Linked DNA regions of Homo sapiens: region 2 is linked to region 1. The links are contacts of gene promoters, found by promoter capture Hi-C in blood cells and fetal thymus (Javierre and others, 2016). All regions are on one chromosome and are shown on one strand. Each heading gives the region's core, a stretch centred on a gene start or on the middle of the fragment in contact. The rest is flanking DNA. Distances are from core to core; before and after follow the strand shown.

Region 1 (2,736 bases), core at 47-2,546:
AAGGTGCCTATGGAAGTAAGTGGGATGGTATGTGTGTGTTGCCTGATAAATGGCCAGGCACTGTGACAATAATTCCTGCTCCATGGATCGAACACAGAAATCAGTTTCCCCACTTCCTAGTGCCATCTCAGAGGTGTTGCATTATCGGTTGCTAAAGCTCAGCGAGTTCCACCCACACAGTCCCAATAAGCTCTGTCATTCCGATTGGCCAGTCTGCAGTCTAAATGGAAAGGAAGTAGAGGTAGAAAGAGGCAGCAAAGAAAAGTGAGATGTGACAGTCTAAGAGTAGAGGCAGACAGAAAGACCATACAGACAAGGGTTAGAATACTAAAAACAGAGCAATCTGGGGTAGTGTTAGTGCACGGGCAAGCAGTCCGACCCCTCTGGGGAGATCATGTGTTACGTGATGTGGTATCAGTTGACCAGGTGTTAAGTCTCAAATCATGAAAGCCTCAAATCATTCAAAAAAAAAAAGGTGAATGTTCAACACAATCAGTTTAAGAATATACTATACAAATAAAGAGGTATACATTGAGCAATAGTACCATTACAAACAGGAAAACAGTTCAAGTGAAAGTTACAGGGGCCTGACTCAGTACTGGGGTGCCTCCTTCCTTTAGAATGCTGGATAAATGGAATTTCACCAAAAAAAATATTGAAGTCTTTTTGCCTCTCAGCAAGGTGTTATTTAGGCAGAAGGAAAGCAATGGAAATGAGGAAGGGAAAGCAAGGGGGTAGGGACTTGGGGTTTCTCCTTCCGTTAAAAAAAATCTTCAACTTGGTGCTTGGCTAGTGCCACCCACGAGGTTCAGTCAGCCTGGCTCTTCTTGGTGGCACGCAGGGCGTCACGTCCCCTGTCCAGCAGCAGGTCCTCCAGCCGCTTGCAGTGCTCCCGGAGCTGTTTCTCGCGCGGCAACAGGAAGGTGAGAACCTTGTTGCGCACGATGCCACGGTCCTCCTCCTCCCTTAGCCGCTGCCTCACGCGAGCCGCCTGCTCCTCCTGTTGCACCAGGGCTCCATTCATCTCGCAGAAGGCGTCTTCAAGGTAATGAATGGACTTCAATGCCTCTTTCTTAAAGTCCTCCAGTTCCCGTTGCACCCCGGCCACCTTCTGCTGCAGGATCTCCAAGTCAGCGGGTGGTGGGAGGCAGGAGGGCCATGACTGGGACAGGGAAAAGTCTCCAGACTGGAGGCCACTCTCTATCATTTTTTTCCCCTGTAGGGTATTCACCGTCATGAGAATGGACCCAGCCTGGTAGAGGGGTTCCATTGTCTCTTCTACGTTGGACAAAGAGAGGAAGCCAAGAGACCAACCAGGTCAATAAATATTTTTGGCTAGAGACACGATCATTCGGAGTGGAGAAACCCTAGAATTGTGACATCAGGGCCCCTTCAGCCAACCAGAAAGAAAGCCACAATCCATTCATTTGCATATTGTAGCTTCCTTGGTTGGTTACCTAGAGCTTTGTCTGTTTATCTGACCAAGTCGCCCTCCTGAGATGTGGATCCTTAACTCATCACCCTTCTAGAACCAGAACTCAAGTTCTTCTTTAACCTAAGGAACAAACCAAGTCCCAGAGCAGGGAAGTAAACTGGCCAGAGCAAGGCAGGCCAGGCCAGGCTCACTGGCTGCCAGGACTGGGTGGTCTCCCACACTGGCAAGGGACCTGCATGGTCTTGGACTGGTCTCTGGGCTTTAGTACCTCACTAGTAAAACAAAGACATTGTAAGAGATGATACCTAATCCCACTTGTAGCTCTAAAATGCTAAAAAGTAATCTCTTATTCCAAGTCCATACTCCTATAATGATGTCAGAATTCTATAAAATCTTAGAAATTGCGAAAAATGTACTTAGATTTTGATGTATGGTCCACAGCAATGGCTGATTCAGCAGGTGCAAGGTAAAAATGGGTTAGTCATATTTATTCAATAAATACTAAGTGCTCACTACACACTAGGATCAGGGAACAAGTGAGTGCATGGTCTTCCAACATACCTGAATGTTAACAAATATGAGAAACAACACATAGAAAGGTAAATCTTGTACTTTTTACCTGATAATTAGAACAAAGGAAAATACTTCTAGCTAATCTACATTTGGTTTAGTCAGGAACAAACCTTCATCTTGCACATCTCAGTCTCTTGCCTAGACTTCTCTCCTGGTCTCCAAATCTAAACGTCTCCCCCACAATGGGCCTCCAATTCAAGCCATCCAAAGCTGAATTGGTGATCTCTTTACCCAAACCAGTTCCTGTTCCAGTGTTGCTGTCAGATTAATGAGAGCAACCCAGAACAGCACACACACCAGAGCCCTCATGAGACAACTGGTGCTGTGATGCTAATATTTGTCCCCTCCCAAACTCATGTTGCAATTTAATTACCATTGTAACAGGATTATGAGGAAGGACCTTTAACAGATGATTAGGCTACCCTTTAAGAGATAAATGGATTAACACTGTTATCTTGGGAGCAGGTTCCTTATAAGTGGATAAGTTCAGCCCCTTTATGTCTCTCTCTCACCCTCTCTTTGCCCTTCTACTATGTGATGTCTTCTGCTGTGGAATGACACAGCAAGAAGGCCCTTGCCAGATGCCAGCATTTTGATTTTGGACTTCCTAGCCTCCAGAACTGTAAGGAAATACATTTCTGTTCTTTATAAATTACCCAGCATCGGGTATTTTACTATAGCAGCACACAATAGACTAAGAAACTTAGGATCAACCTAGACCCTTCCAT
Region 2 (2,700 bases), core at 78-2,577, 530 kb before region 1:
GGAAAAGTGTTTACTGGAGGAGAGGGTGGCTGCAGCTCCCTGTGGCAGAAGAAATCACTGTGTTTGAGCCATCATTGCACCACTACAAAGGTCAAAAGTGTGCTCTTCCAAATAACTCAGGAAGGGTGGGGTTGCTTTAAAAGAACCCTGCCCACTGAACTTCTTGCATGGAGCAAGGAGACTTCAGCAGAAAAAGGTGGAGGGCATACTGTCAAGTGCCTGACGGAGGGGGAGGGAGATCATAGCAGTTAGCCTACGAGACCTCCTACCTGGGTTAAAGGATGCAGTCATAGGGCCCAGGAGGGGAACTTCCAGCATCCCATGCTAGCCCTGAGAGAAGAGTCAGCTCTAGGCGTCTGACACAGCCAGTACCATGACTAGCCCAGACTCTTCCTGCACTGCCCCCACCCCCCATAATCCTAGGGGAGCCAAAGAGAGCCAGGCAGGGAGAGTGGAGGTCCCAGGAGGCACCCTCAAGGGTGAGCCATCAGGCAAAACTTCTATGGATTTCTGGAAGCTCCAGTCCAGGGAATCAGTTTCCAAAACTTAGTAAAAGGAAGATGAAATATAATGAAACTCATTATTTTTTTCCTTTAGATAAACATGAATTATTCACTAAAGATCTAAATTCTGATTTATTACAGCTTCAGATTTATCAGGGAGAAAAAGTGTGGGGTTTTTTTTTCCCCCTTTTTGTCTCCGTCTCTGGAGGGGAAATATGACCTCACCGTGCTTAGCAATACAAACACTAAGTGTGATGGTCACCTTTAGTCATGGAAGAGGGTGAACTGCCTATGGGCCAGGGTGCTAAACAGTGTGGTTATTTACATAGTTCTGGAGTTGGTCGTGAATGCTAATGCTCTCATGCCTCTGCTGCCTGAATGTGGGAATTGTCCTCTCCAATGGAGAGAAAAATATATGACCTTTTGTGAAGATCTTAATGTCAGCTGTTACATTCCTTTCAAAGGGCGTTAGTGGTCTAATTAACCTACCTACTGATTCTGAAATCTGACCTTCACAAGACAGTGAGGTGGTGAAGTTCTCTCTGAACCTGGTTGGGGAGGGGTAAGGATGAGATCGTCCTGTGGCCAAGGAGTTAAACCCAAGGATGGGTTTGATTGAGCCCATGGCTTGGTTGAGGTCCTGTGTATGTTATTCCTTTTGTTCCAAGAGCTGCATTACCCCCTCATGACAAGTCGCTGTTGGAGGTCACTGGGGCACCAAGAGCCCAGCCGAAGCAGGTGACTCCAACCCTCAGAGACAGAGGGCCCTCAAGTGTCTGAGCTCACTCCACTGCGAAGACTGCAACATTGCTTTGTTAACCTGGGGAGTGATGTCAGATTTAATTTTGCTGTCAAAGGCTTCGTAAACCTCAGATGAAATGTATTCCAGAACCTAAATAATTCTTGCTGTTGTTATTGTTGTCCCTGAGATCAGGTCTTTTGTGATAATCTTTCATGACACTGGGTACAACCATCCAACCCCCCCAGTGAAGGATGACTGGCTTGGTCAGTGTTGGCATGAAGGTAATCCATGACTCTCTCTCTCTCTTAGTGTAAACATATCTTCCCGGAGATTTGGCTTCAGACTTAGGATGGGAAAAGGAAGAAAGTGAAAAACATCTCACTTTAAACATATACTGAGTGCTATTTAAGTGCACCCTAAATACCCGCATCTACTTTATTATTTTAATTTAATTTGTATTATTATTATTTTTAGAAATGAGATCTTGCTCTGTCATGTAGGCTGGAGTACAGTGGTACTATCCTAGCCCACTGCAGCCTCAAACTCCTGGGCTCAAGTGATCCTCCTGCCTCAGCCTCCTGAGTAGCTGGAGTAACAGTTGTGCACCACCATGCCTGGTTGATTTTTTTTTTTTTTTTGGTAGAGATGGGGTCTTGCTATGTTGCCCAGGCTGGTCTTGAATTCCTGGGCTTAAGTGATCCTCCTACCTTGGCCTCCCAAAGTGCTGGAATTACAGGTGTGAGCCACTGTGCTTGGCCCCTCCACATTTATTTCAGCCCTCATCACTCAACTGGTATAATACTTACTGGGTTAGGGGCCTGTACCCCTGTATCAGCTAGGACTCCTTTTTGCAAGTGTGAGAAGCCAAGTTGAGGCTTCTGTAACTGAAAAGACGAGACAGTGAGAAATCTTCAGGCATGGCTAGATCGAAGGGTTCAAATCATGGCAACAGTACTCAGTCTCCAACTTTCCTCATTCTGCTTCTGGTTGGTGTCATTCTCTACAACAGATGACCCTCCCAAATCTCCAGGATTACTTTATCTCTATAGCCAACAGTTCCAATTTGAGTGAGAAGACAGCTCATTTTCCCCAAAACTGACAAAAACAACGACCACAAAAAACAAAAACAACAAAAAAAGCCAACCTTCAGACTTAAATCCTATTGGTCTCTTAAAGGTCACATGCTCACGTCTGAGCCAATCAGTGCATCCAGGAGCTTGAGTGGCCAGGCCTGGGTCAACCTCTCAGTCCTCGGACCAGGCCTGGGTAGTCAGTTCCAACTGAACTGCGGGGACCAAATGTGAGAAGGGTGGTTCCCTGAAGGAAAATCCAGGTGTTGTCATCCAAAAGGAAGGGAGTGGATGCTGGGCAGAAAACCACAACTGTTAAGAGCAAATCTTGGCTCTGCCTTTCTGAGCTCTTTAAGCTTGGGCAAGTTACTAAATGTTGCTGTGC

The links. The method cuts DNA at HindIII sites, captures the fragments that hold promoters and counts their contacts. A CHiCAGO score of 5 or more calls a contact.
Region 2: a fragment that was not itself captured here is called in contact with the fragment with the promoter of CCDC182 in region 1 in 7 of 17 cell types (naive CD8 T cells, total CD8 T cells, naive CD4 T cells and 4 more); the score reaches 9.0 in naive CD8 T cells.

What each region holds. Positions count from the first base shown.
Region 1 is chr17:57,744,003-57,746,738 of GRCh38, forward strand. CCDC182 (coiled-coil domain containing 182) reads right to left here and starts at 1,297. Exons shown (of 1, transcript NM_001282544.2): 1 at 493-1,297. The coding sequence starts at 1,270. The coding sequence ends at 809. The HindIII fragment of the contact is 19,296 bases long and covers 1-2,736 here.
Region 2 is chr17:57,210,941-57,213,640 of GRCh38, forward strand. No RefSeq gene overlaps it. Among named protein-coding and RNA genes, the nearest start is that of MSI2, 44 kb to the right of the region's middle. The HindIII fragment of the contact is 2,683 bases long and covers 1-2,669 here.